Regions from separate parts of the Homo sapiens genome. Here region 2 is linked to region 1. The links are contacts of gene promoters, found by promoter capture Hi-C in blood cells and fetal thymus (Javierre and others, 2016). All regions are on one chromosome and are shown on one strand. The core of a region is centred on a gene start or on the middle of the fragment in contact, and the rest is flanking DNA. Distances in the headings are between cores, read along the strand shown. Region 1 holds the start of ENDOG (endonuclease G). Region 2 holds the start of DOLPP1 (dolichyldiphosphatase 1).

The links. The method cuts DNA at HindIII sites, captures the fragments that hold promoters and counts their contacts. A CHiCAGO score of 5 or more calls a contact.
Region 2: the fragment with the promoter of DOLPP1 here is called in contact with the fragment with the promoter of ENDOG in region 1 in 3 of 17 cell types (endothelial precursors, fetal thymus and M0 macrophages); the score reaches 7.7 in endothelial precursors.

Annotation. Positions count from the first base shown.
Region 1 is chr9:128,814,191-128,820,447 of GRCh38, forward strand. ENDOG (endonuclease G) reads left to right here and starts at 4,310. Exons shown (of 3, transcript NM_004435.2): 1 at 4,310-4,995. The coding sequence starts at 4,495. It overlaps KYAT1-SPOUT1 (KYAT1-SPOUT1 readthrough), which reads right to left. Exons shown (of 25, transcript NR_182311.1): 25 at 5,461-6,257. SPOUT1 (SPOUT domain containing methyltransferase 1) reads right to left here. Exons shown (of 12, transcript NM_016390.4): 12 at 5,461-6,257. RefSeq lists a silencer at 4,544-4,603 and enhancers at 4,708-5,273, 5,224-5,313. The HindIII fragment of the contact is 1,677 bases long and covers 4,097-5,773 here.
Region 2 is chr9:129,076,984-129,083,894 of GRCh38, forward strand. It overlaps DOLPP1 (dolichyldiphosphatase 1), which reads left to right and starts at 4,128. Exons shown (of 8, transcript NM_020438.5): 1 at 4,128-4,224. The coding sequence starts at 4,149. RefSeq lists a silencer at 3,826-4,555. The HindIII fragment of the contact is 2,856 bases long and covers 3,456-6,311 here.

The DNA.
Region 1 (6,257 bases), core at 3,060-5,559:
CTACCTCGGCTCACTGCAACCTCTGCCTCCCGGGTTCAAGCAATTCTCCTGCCTCAGCCTCCCCAGTAGCTGGGAATACAGGTGTGTGCCACCACACCCGGCTAATTTTTGTATTTTTAGTATACACAGTGTTTCACCGTGTTGGCCAGGCTGGTCTTGAACTCCTGACATTGTGATCCACCTGCCTCGGCCTCCCAAAGTGCTGGGATTACAGGTGTGAGCCACCTAGCCTGGCATACTTTTTTTGGTTTGTTTTTTTTTTTGAGATAGAGTCTCGCTCTGTCGCCCAGGCTGGAGTGCAGTGGCACGATCTCAGCTCACTGCAACCTCAGCCTCCGGGGTACAAGGAATTCTCATGCCTCAGCATCCCAGGGTAGCTTGGATTACATATCTTTATGTGATGCATGATTATATTTGCAAACCATACATCTGATAAGGGGTTAATATCCAAGATATATAAGTACTTAAAACATCTCAGTAGCAGCTGGGCATGGTGGCTCATGCCTGTAATTCAAGCACTTTGGGAGGCGGAGGCGGGTGGATCACCTGAGGTCCGGAGTTCAAGACCAGCCTGGCCAATATGGTGAAACCCAGTCTCTACTAAAACTACAAAAATATTAGCCAGGAGTGGTGGTGGGTGCCTGTAATCCCAGCTACCCAGGAGGCTGAGGCACAAGAATCACTTGAACCCAGAGGCGGAGGTTGCAGTGAGCCGAGATCGTGCCACTGCACTCCAGCCTGGGTGACAGAGCAGGACTCTGTCTAAAAAACAAAAACAGAAACAAACAAAAATCTCAATAGCAAGAAAACAATGTGATTTAAACAACACGCAAAGGACCTGAATAGATATTTCTCAAAAGAAGACATACAGCACTTTGGGAGGCTGAGGCAGGCGAATCGCCAGGTGAAGAGATCAAGACCATCCTGGCCAACATGGTGAAACCCCGTCTCTACTAAAAATACAAAAATTAGATGGGCATAGTGGTGTGTGCTTGAACCCAGGAGGCGGAGGTTGCAGTGAGCCGAGATCGAGCCACTGCACTCCAGCCTGGTGACAGAGCCAGACTCTGTCTCAAAAAAAAATAAAAAAAGACATAAAAATTTCTGGCAACTATCTGAAAAAATGCTGAACAATGCATGGATCATCTGGGAAATGCAAATTAAAACCAAAATGAGATACCACCTCACACCTGTCAGAATGGCTTATAAAAAAAAGACAAGGCCGGGCGTGGTGGCTAACGCCTGTAATCCCAGCACTTTGGGAGGCTGAGGCAGGTGGATCACGAGGTCAGGAGTTCAAGACCAGTCTGGCCAACATAGTGAAACCCCATCTCTACTAAAAATACAACAAAATTAGCCGAGCGTGGTGGTGTGCACCTGTAATCCCAGCTACTCAGGAGGCTGAGGCAAGAGAATTGCGTCAACCTGGGAGGGGGAGGTTGCAGTGAGCCAAGATTGTGCCATTGCACTCCAGCCCAGGCAACAGTGCGAGATTCACCCTCAAAAAAAAAAGGAGATTCTGTCATTTGTGACAACATGGAAGAACCTAGAGGACGTTACGGTAGGTGAAATAAGCCAGGCACAGAAAGACAAACACGACATGGTTTCACTTATATTCGGAATGTAAAACAACTCATAGAGGTGGAGAGTAGAATGATGGTACCAGAGTCTGGGGATTGGTGGGAGTTGGGGCGGTGGGGAATGGGGAAATGTTGGTCAAAGGGTACAGTTTCAGCTAGACAGGAGGATTTTTTTTTTTTTAATTTGAGACGGGGGTCTTACTATGTTGCCCAGGCTGGTCTTGAACTCCTTGGTTCAAGCAATCCTCCCACCTTGGCCTCCAAAAGGGCTATGATTACAGGCCTAAGCCACCATACCCGGCCCAGGAATGTTTTTTTTTTAGAACTATAGCATGGTATGGCCAGGTGCGATGGCTCACACCTGTAATCCCAGCACTTTGGGAGACTGAGGTGGGTGGATCATCTGAGGTCGGGAGTTCGAGACCAGCCTGACCAGCATGGAGAAACCCTGTCTCTACTAAAAATACAAAAAATTAGCTGGGGATGGTGACACATGCCTGTAATCCCAGCTACTCGGGAGGCTGAGGCAGGAGAATCACTTGAACCTGGGAGGCAGAGGTTGTGGTGAGCCGAGATCACGCCATTGCACCCCAGCCTGGGCAACAAGAGCAAAACTCTGTCTCCAAAAAAAAAAAACACAAACTACAGCATGGTCACTATAGTTAATGTATATTTCAAAATTGCTGAAAGTAGCTGGGTATGGTGATACACCATAGCCTGTAGTCCCATTTACTCAGGAGGCTGAGGCCCACAGATCACTTGATCCCAGGAGGTCAAGAACAGCCTGGGCAACAAAGCAAGACCCTGTCCCATATTTTTTTTTGAAGCAGAGTCTCACTCTGTTGCCCAGGCTGGAGTGCAGTGGCATGATCTCGGCTCACTGCAACCTCCGCCCTCCAGGTTCAAGCAATCCTCTTGCCTCAGTCCCCCAGTAGGTGGGATTACAGGCACGGTCCACTATGCCCAGCTAATTTTTGTATTTTTAGTAGAGACAGGGTTTCGCCATGTTGGCCAGGCTGGTCTCAAACTACTGACCTCAGGAGGGCTTAGTGGCTCATGCCTGTAACTTTGGGAGGCCAAGGCAGGAGGATCACTGGAGGCCAGGAGTTCAAGACCAGCCTGGACAACATAGCGAGGCCCCATCTCTATAAAAAATTTAAAAGTTAGCCAGGCATCATGATATGTGTCTGTGGTCCTAGCTACTCGGGAGGGTGAGGCAGGAGGATGGCTTGAGCCCAGGAGGTCAAGGCTGCAGTGAACTGTGATCTTGCCACTGCACTCCGTGTGGGTGACAGCACAAGACCTTATTTTCCTTAAAGGAAAAAAAAATGCTAAGAGTGGCTGGGTTGGGTGGCCCATGTCTATAACCCCAGCACTTTGGGAGGCCAAGGTGGGTGGATCACAAGGTCAGGAGTTAGTTCGAGACCAGCCTGGCCAACATGGTGAAACCCATTCTTTACTAAAAGTACAAAAATTAGCTGGGCGTGGTGGCGCGCGCCTGTAGTCCCAGCTACTCAGGAGGCCGAGGCACGAGAATCGCTTGAACCAAGGAGGCGGAGGTTGCAGTGAGCCTGGGCGACAGAGCGAGACTCCGTCTCAAAAAAAAAAAAAAATTAGCTGGGCCTGGTGGTGCGCGCCTGTAATCCCAGCTACTTCAGAGGCTGAGGCAGGAGAATCACTTGAACCTGGGAGGCAGAGGTTCCACTGCGCGGAGATCACGCCATTGCACTCCAGCCTGGGCAATAGAGTGAGACTCCGTCTCAAAAAATAAAAGTCCTTAACCAGTCCATATTTCTGAATATTTTGCTTATTCCTGCCGGCAGTGTAATACTCTGGTGAATATTTGCGTTCGAGATCCTTGCATTCCCGAGATTTCCCCAGCTCAGCCCTCTGCGTGGGTTGAACGGTATGAACCTTTTTAAGGCTTCGCTTGTACTGTACTGTCAAGCTGTTTTTTGGAATATTCGCCCCAGGTTTCTGTTCCAGCCAGCAGCCAGCATCAGCCGTCTGCATCCTTGTCCTCAAACTGCTGTTAATTAAAATCTTTGCCAATCTGGGCCGGGCGCGGTGGCTCACGCCTGTAATGCCAACACTTTGGGAGGCCGAGGCCGGCGGATCGCCTGAGGTCGGGAGTTTGAGACCAGCCTGACCAACATGGAGAAACCCTGTCTCTACTAAAGATACAAAATTAGCCGGGCGTGGTGGCGCATGCCTGTAATCCCAGCTACTTGGGAGGCTGAAGCAGGAGAATCGCTTGAACCTGTGAGGCGGAGGTTGCAGTGAGCCGAGATCACGCCATTGCACTCGAGTCTGGGCGACCAGAGCGAAACTCCGTCTCAAAAAAAAAAAAAAAAAAAAAGAAACCTTTGCCAATCTGGTAGAATTGCGGGGCTTATTTTATGGTGTCATGGAGGATAGCCTAGGGCCAGATATACCTGGGGCCCTGTGCCTGCTCTGCGAACTAGGAGCTCACTCTCCGAGCGGTGTAGAGGGTGAGACTAAGCAGTGACAGTAAAAGCTTTCGACAGTGCTTGACCCTTCCGCGGAGCGTATTAAGCAGGAGCTCCCTGCGCAGGCGCAGAGGAGAGAGTGTCTCCCACCCCACGACCAGCAGGGGGCCTGCGAGGCGGGTGCGGAGCCAGGCCTGATGGTGGCCAATCGCGAGCTGAGGCGACGATGCCACGCCCCTCATACCGGCGTCTTAAATGCGCAAAGAAAGGACGCCGGGGACACCCGGTTGGGCTCTGCTGCTCCCTTCTGGGTTCCGAGGCCCAAGCCCTTGGCAGTGTTTGTGAGTGGAAGGGAGGTCACGCTATCGTCCGCGGCCCCAGCAGCCCTGTGCCCTCGTTGGATCCCGCGACGCGGCTCCTTTAAGAGCCTCGCGGGTCGCCCGCCGCTAGGTCGCTCCCCGGCCATGCGGGCGCTGCGGGCCGGCCTGACCCTGGCGTCGGGCGCGGGGCTGGGTGCGGTCGTCGAGGGCTGGCGGCGGCGGCGGGAGGACGCGCGGGCGGCGCCGGGACTGCTGGGCCGGCTGCCCGTGCTGCCCGTGGCGGCGGCAGCCGAGTTGCCCCCTGTGCCCGGGGGACCCCGCGGCCCGGGCGAGCTGGCCAAGTACGGGCTGCCGGGGCTGGCGCAGCTCAAGAGCCGCGAGTCGTACGTGCTGTGCTACGACCCGCGCACCCGCGGCGCGCTCTGGGTGGTGGAGCAGCTGCGACCCGAGCGTCTCCGCGGCGACGGCGACCGGCGCGAGTGCGACTTCCGCGAGGACGACTCGGTGCACGCGTACCACCGTGCCACCAACGCCGACTACCGCGGCAGTGGCTTCGACCGCGGTCACCTGGCCGCCGCCGCCAACCACCGCTGGAGCCAGAAGGCCATGGACGACACGTTCTACCTGAGCAACGTCGCGCCCCAGGTAGCGCCCGCGCCCCGGGCCGGTCGCGGAATGCGGGGCCGGCGCCTGGCCTCGCGGGGCCTCGGTTTGTTCTTCTGCAGAACGGGGCAGCTGCCCAACGCGCCCCCGGTCAGGCATCGCAGTGACATCCCGTGGCGGGAGGGAGGAGCACTGGGCTCCAGGCACAGGGTCTGCAGGCCGACCAGGGCTTGAGCTTCAACTGCGAACCCTGGGCACCTCCCTGAGCGTCGCTTTCCTCGTCAAAAAAATGGGGATAATACCGTTATTCACCTTCCTCCTGCGGTAGTGATGAGGCGCTGAGGCTCACAGAGGCAAAGTGACGGGCACAGTGTCACACAGCAGAAGAAGGCTGTCTGTTGTAGAACCGCAGCGCCCAACCTATTGGGCACCAGGGTGCGGTTTCGTGGAAGACAGTTTTTCCACGGCTTGGTGGGTGAGGGCGGGTTTCAGGATAATTCAAGTGCGTTACATTTATGTACATTTTATTTCTATTATTATTACATTGTAACATATAGTGAAATATACAACTCACAGTAATGTAGGATCCGTGGGAGCCCTGAGCTTGTTTTCCTGCAACTAGACAGTCCTATCTGGAGGTGATGGGCAACAACGACAGATCAGGCATTAGGTTTTCAAAAGAAGCGCGCAACCTCCTCACATGCGCAGTTCACCATAGGGTTCCAGCTCCTATGACAATCTCCAGCCGCCACTGATCTGACAGGAGGCGGAGCTCAGGCTGCTGTGGGATCAATGGGGGGGTGGCTGTAAATACAGATGAAGCTTCCCTTGCTCGCCTGCTGCTCACCTCCTGCTGTGTGGCCCGGTTCTGGTACCGGTCTGTAGCCCAGGGGTTGGGGACCCCTAGTCTATAAAACCGTGAGCCTCCAGACATTGTCCTACCCTGCCTGCCTTCAGGCAGTTTCGAGGCAGACACCTGGCCCACGATCAGGTTGTTAGTGCCAGGCACTGTGCACTGGGCCAACCACCCTCTCAGCCTGTTCCCAGCAGGTCCTGGCACCAATGGATGGAGACTGCCATGGGGCTCTGGGTGGAGCCCATGGGGCACCAACCTCTGACCCAGCTTCCTTCTGGGAAGACAGCCCCCTATCCACTTTCCATTGTCCCAGGCCTGGAGAGCTCAGGATGGAGGTCGATTCATGGCATTCCCCGCTAGGCTCTTCCTGTGGCTCAGACTGGGAAAAGGAACGGGTTGGTAGTTGGAAGGGCTGGTCTTCCCAGGAGACCCTGGGTGGGGCTGGGGA
Region 2 (6,911 bases), core at 2,878-5,377, 260 kb after region 1:
CCACTGGAGGCCGCAGCATGGCTAACGCTCACAACCATAATGTGAGTGAAGAAGCCACATACTCAAAAACTGCAGACTGTAGGCTTCCGTTGACAGAAATTCCACAATCCAGGCCAGGCTCCGTGGCTCAAGCCTGTAATCCCAGCACTTTCAGAGGCTGAGGCAGGTAGATCATGAGGTGAAGAGATCGAGACCATCCTGGCCAACACGGTGAAACCCTGTCTCTATTAAAACTACAAAAAATTAGTTGGGCATGCTGGTATGCACCTGTAGTCTCAGCTACTCGTGAGGCCGAGGCATGAGAATCGCTTGAACCCAGGAAGCGGAGGTTGCAGTGAGCTGAGATCACGGCACTACACTCTAGCCTGGGCGACAGAGTGAGACTCCGCCTCAAAAAACAAACAAAACAAAACAAAAATGAAATTACACAATCCAGCCAAACTGAAGGTGTGGTGTCGGAAGTTGGAAGTCACCTGGGGTGACTGGAGGGGCGCCAGGGTTCCTAAGTTCCTGGTTCCTGATGTGGGGGCTGCTTATACAAGTGTGCTTAGTTTATGAAACCACATCAAGCTGTATACATTCGATTTCTGAAATTTTCTGTATGAAATATTTACATATACATATATATGTATATATATATATTTTAGACAGTCTTGCTCTGTCACCCAGGCTAGAGTGCAGTGGCACGATCTCGGTTCACTGCAACCTCTGTCTCCCAGGTTCAAGCGATTCTCCTGCTTCAGCCTCCTGAGTAGCTGGGACTACAGGTGCATGCCACCACACCCAGCTAATTTTTGTATTTTTAGTAGAGATGGAGTTTTGCCATATTGGCCAGGCTGGTCTTAAACTGCTGACCTCAAGTAATCCGCCTGCCTTGGCCTCCCAAAGAGCTGGGATTACAGGAGTGAGCCACTGCACCCAGCCATGTATATATATATATATATATATTTTTTTTTTTTTTTTTGAGACAGAGTTTCACTCTTGTTGCCCAGGCTGGTGTGATGTCCGCTCACTGCAACCTCCACCTCCACATTCAAGCAATTCTCCTCCCTCAACCTCCCAAGTAGCTGTGATTATAGGCATGTGCCACCATGCCTAGCTAATTTTTGTATTTTTAGTAGAGACGGGGTTTCACCATGTTGGCCAGGCTGGGCTTGAACTCCTGACCTCGGGTGATCCACCTGCCTCGGCCTCCCAAAGTGCTGGGATTACAACCCAGCCATATTTTTGAGACAGGGTCTTGCTCTGCTGCCCAGGCTGAAGTGTAGCGGCAGGATCACAGCTCACTGTAGCCTTTACCTCCCCAGCTCATGTGATCCTCCCATCTCAGCCTCCCGAGTAACTGGGACCATAGGTGTGCACCACCATGCCTGGCTAATTTTTAAAAATTTGTTTGTAGAGATGAAGTCTTGCTGTATTGCCCAGCTAGTCCTGAACTCCTGGGCTCAAGCGATCCTCCCGCCTCGGCCTCTCAAAGTGCTGGGACTACAGGTTTAGTCACGGTGCCTGCCCTGAATGTTCTATTTTAAACAAGAAAACCAAACCAAACCCAACAACAAACCCATCCTTCAGAGCTTCCCTCTGTCCCCACCATTAACAGTGCCCTCAAAGTTTCGGGTGGTCAGGCCCCTGTGGGCCTCCTCCCCACCACCTTACCCCTTCTTTCCCTCTTGCCCACTTCATCCAGCCACACGCGGGCCCCAGGACACTGGCTTACACTGTTCTCTCTGCCAGGAAAACCCTCCCTGGGTAACTCCCTCTCATTTCATAGTTCCTCATCCTCATCCTCCCTCGGGAGGCTCCCAGCACTGACAGGCCTGCATTTCATGGACTTTGCTCCCAAGGCCTATTTGGGAGCGGCAATGTGGCCCAGATCATGGATGGCTGTCCTGTCCCAGGGAACTATTCTGAGAAGCTCCCGGCCCGCTCCTCACACCTCCTGCTTCTCAGAGGCTAATAATGACAGTGCCTGAGGAAACCGAGGCCAGCTGACCCCGACGAGCCCAGGCTGGGAGTGCGCACAGCAGGGCAGTGGGCCTTCTGGGCTCTTTGGTGGGTTCTGAGTCGCCATCATCTCCGGCCACACAGGCCAGCTCACGGTCCCCGCTCTACTGGCCTGGCCACTCGCAGAAAGAGCCACTCTCAGTGGGATTTCCTGGGTAATTCTCAACTCACCTCAGGGGCGCTCGTGTCACTTATCAGACACTTGCTCTAGGTCTGGTCTGGACCAGGCTCAGGATGTACCAGGCCCTGTCCTCATGTTGCCCAGGGTTTCTCCAGTGGTGGCTGTAACCACCTGTATCAGAACCACCAGAGCACATAAGAATGCAGACACCTGGGCTCCAACTCAGACCTACTGGATCAACCCAGGCCCCATTGTGACCCAGGAATCTGTGTTTTCTACAGGCTGATCTCAGCACTCCATGAATCTGAGAGCCGCTGCTGACTGGGAGGGATAGGGAGCCGATTACAGTCCAGTGAGGTCAGGGCTGAGAAAGGACAGGAAATGCAACCGTGAGAGCCCAGTACTGGCCCCTCACTTGACTGTGGAAACCTGTAAGCCGAGGAGACACCTGAACCAGATTGGGCCGGGCAAAGTAGGGCAGGAGAGGCAGTACATCCCACGCAGCAAAACAGCACATGGTGGCCAGGGGCGGTGGCTCACACCTGTAATCCCAGCACTTTGGGAGGCCGAGGTGGGCGGATCACGAGGTCAGGAGATCAAGACCATCCTGACCAACACGGTGAAACCCCGTCTCTACGAAAAGTACGAAAATTAGCCGGGCGTGCCACTGCACTCCAGCCTGGGCAACAGAGCGAGACTCCGTCTCAAAAAAAAAAAAAAAAAATTAGCTGGGCATGGCGGCTCACGCTTGTAATCTCAGCATTTTGGGAGCCGAGGCAGGTGGATCACCTGAGGCCAGGAGTTCGAGACCAGCCTGCCCAACATGGTAAGACCCGGTCTCTACTAAAAATGCAAAAATTAGCCGGATGCGGTGGTGCGCGCCTGTAGTCACAGCTACTCGGGAGGCTGAGACAGGAGAATCACTTGGACCCAGGAGGCTGAGCAAGATCGTTCCACTGCACTCCAGCCTGGGCCTCAGAGCAAGACCCTGTCTCAAAAAACAAACAAACAGACAAAAACAGCACATGCTAGCGGCAGGAGACAAGAGGCTGAGCCCTCCCAGCCCACCTTACCTGCACTGTAATCCAATCCAGCCAGAGACAGAGTCGGGTAGGAGAGGTGAAGGCGGGTGGGAAGGTGTGGCTGTTCACGCAGGAATGTCTTGGGAAAACTGAGGGGTAGGTGGAAAACCGACTTCTTGTTTGAAATGCTCCCAAGACGCCTCATTAAGTAGCATAGACGTGACTGAATCAATAAATCTTTATTAAATGAATGAAAGGAGGAAGGAGTCCTTAACTGTAGCTAAGCTTCCACTCTTAAGTATCAATTAAGCTTCTCTGTTCAGTCCAGCGTTTAGGGCGCCTACTGCGCGCCCCGCCCCACACACTTTTGACAAAAAGGTCGCCTGCTCTGTGTGACTTGCCCTTTCGCCGGCCAGTATGGGGCAGAGGGAAATAAGCCCCCTCTGCTCTCTGGTCTCAGTTTACTCGTAACTGAAAGTGGGTCGGTTCAAACCCCCTGGAGCTGAGGTTGCCTCTCCTCTTCGAGCACGCGCTATCGGACGCGCAGGTCCCCAAGACCGCGGATCGGCAGGGGGTACCAGGGAAGCCTTCATTCAGGGCGCAGGTCCCAGCCGAACCAAAGCTCCCACCAAAGTTCAACACGCCCCCAAAGCCAGCGCCTGATTGGCCCGCCCTGCCCACAAGCTGAGGCAGCCTCACCTTCTGATTGGCTGTTATGCTCCCTGTTCGGTGCTGGAACCCTCCCCTTCTCTGATTGGCCAGATGCCTACCTGCGCTCGCCCCAGATTGGGCGCCAGCTGGGGCGGCTCGTTGGCTCCCAGGGGCCCCGCTCTCTGATTCGCCGCTCGGGCCAGCCCCCACGGCCTGCACGCTGAATGGCTGCGCCGCTACCTATATTGGCCTCCGATTGGGTGCACGGCGCCTCCCCGGCGTGATAGGTCAGGACCACCGCCCCCCTGGCTCCCCATTGGCTGCTCGAAGAAGCCCGGTCTCCGGGTAAGATGGCAGCGGACGGACAGTGCTCGCTCCCCGCTTCATGGCGGCCGGTGACCCTCACCCACGTCGAATATCCTGCAGGTAAAAGGCGGTCCCGGCTCCAAGGACGCCTTCCCAGGGACGGCCTCTCAGTCCCGGGCGCTCCGGCCTGCTCGAGCCCGCGGAGGGGGCGCCGGGGGACCGGGGTGGGAACTGTCAAATAGTGAACCACGGAGGGGCTCGGCCGGCGCGCGCGCCGCGCAGGCGCAGTGGTGCGAGGATGAGCTGGGCGAAATTGTGAGGCGCTCGCTCGCGCACTCTGCGGCTGCGCGGCCAGGGCGCTCCCCCGGGTCCCGGGGCGCCGGTGGGCTGAAATGGGTTGAGGATCTGTGTGAGGCGAGAAAAGATCCCTGGCCTGGACCTTGGCCCTTCTTCCCCGCCCTCCCCTGTCCCAGAGAGGCCGCACTCCTGTTCCAGCGTGCAGGGAGTGTCTTGTTTCCTTCGAACAGTGCTTTGGGCTGCTTGTAAGAGAAAGAGCTCCCCGTTGCTGGGAGTGTGCAAGCCGAAGCCAGGCTTTTGAGTACTTGTGGTGCCACGCCCTGAGCAGGGCACGATTCCACAACAGAGAGGACCCGATGAGGGGGCGGGCAGCCTCCGGGAACTTGACTTCTGTTGCTTCCCATCAGACACACCTCTCGAAGTGCAGGGCTTTCCAGTTGAGAGGTCCATTAGCGGCGTTCTGGAGGCTGTCTAGTAAGAGTGGCGCAGAGCCTGGGCGTGGGGGTCAGACCCATCTGGGCTCCAGTTGAGGCTGAGGCCTTGTGCAGGTGCCTGCCTCTGCTTAAGTTAATTCATCTCTAAAGTGGGACTGATTACAGTGCTTACCTTCTGGTGATGGTATGAGCATCAAATAGCAGGAGGCACAAGAAGGGCTGAGTACAGTGCCCGGCATGCAGTAAGCGTTCAGTAAATACCTGCAGTTAATGTTATCCCACCTTGCAAGACCCTCCCTGGGTAAGATGGTTGAGTGCCAGGGAAGGCTGGAGCCCCTCATTGAGCCCTGGTTGCCTGGGAAGGGCCTGCTCATGCTGCTGTCTTGCGAGATGTGAGAACCTGGGTCCGCTGAGGGCACCAGGACTGAATGCCAAAGAACGTTGACGCTGGTGTTCTGGGTTGTACTGGGGGTGGTATGGCCCTGCCAGGTCCTGGGCCCTGCCTGCCTGCCTGTCTACCATTCATTCATCCATTCATTCATTCAGTCAATATCCACTGAACACTTCTGAGTGCTAGGCCCTGGGCTAGCTCTGGTTTTTAGAATGCTTAACAGGCCTGAAATATCCCTGCATTCCTGCACTATGAAAACCAGCTGCTTTATAAGAGGAAAGCCAAAGCCTGGAGGTGGGGAAAGACTTGCTAAGGCCTCTGCACCTTCACAGCTTCCCCTCCTGGCCTCAGAGTAGCTTCTTGGAGTGCTCACAATCCAACAAGCCAGAAGGAACCTGGCAGGCAGTTGTGTGCAGCATGATACAGGCTGTGATGGACCTGGCTGAGCCTGGAGCATCTGGTGAGGTCTAGTCCCCTATTAATGCTTCCATGGTTCCCTGCACTTCTCCGTCACACCCCTCTTCACACCGTCACTTGCTTACTTCATTCATTCAACAGTTTTTGAGCCCAGTTAAGAGCCAGGCCCTGTGCTGGGCTTGGGGGATAGAGTGGGATATAAAGAGACCCTGTCTCTACTCCCAGATGCTGTCCTGATATCTACATTAGTGGATCATGAACTGAGTCTGGATGGCAGATTCTCCCGTCAGACCTCAAGCTCTGCACTAGCAGGGACATATGTGTCTTTTTTTTTGCCACTGTGGTGGGTTCTTAGTTGTTTGTTGAGTTCACCCAGAGAGCGTCCCAGGTGGGGGGAAACTGTGTGCAAAGGTCCAGAAGTAGGACAGGGCACGATGCGCTCAGGGAACTCGAGTTTGGTCCTTGGAACTGGAGCAGAGGTTGAGAGGGAAGCAGGGCCAGGACTGTGCAGGGCCAGATGAGCTGGGCTGAGGGGGAACTTGTCCTAAGGGCAGTGGGAGGCCTGAGGGGGCTTGGATCAGAGAGTAGAGAGGCCAGAGTCCCTGGTAGCATCTTCAGGAAAACCCCAGGGTAGTGCTGGCTCTGGGACAGGCTATGGAGATGGCTAAAGCTTTGGGGGTACCAGTCACTCACTATCTTCATAGCCCAGTGCTGTGAGGGTGAGCTTCATAGTGGAGAGGCCCAGGAAAGAGAAGGGACTCACCCACTGTCACCCAGTGGGACTGTGGCAGCACCAGCACTTGACCCCAGGCACTTAGCTGGGCTGCTCTGCTCTCCCAGACCAACTCCAGGCCAGTCTGATCCTGGGTAGGATGGGCTGGGTAGGATCCTGTGTGTGGATGAGACCGGGCATGTGTGTGTCTATGTCTTCAGCCCTGGAATCTGGGCTCAGCCCTCTGTGGACAACTTCCCTGCTGCTTGTGTGAGGCTGGTGGCATGGACCATTTCCCACACTGGGTTCTCTCCACCTCTGCCCCAACATGGAAGTGTCCTGGTTGCCAGGGACCAAGCTGGGTGTCTCACAGGTCCCATCTCATTGAGTCTCATGCAGCTGTAGGAGGTAGGCACTGATATCCCTATTCCACAAGTGGGTGAGCTGAGGCTTGAATCCTTGCCTCAGTTCATGCAGCCAGTGAGTGTGGGCATAGGAGCTGAACCATGCTCTCAGACCCCAGAGTGGCTACATAGCTGCCTGTCTCAAGTGGTGA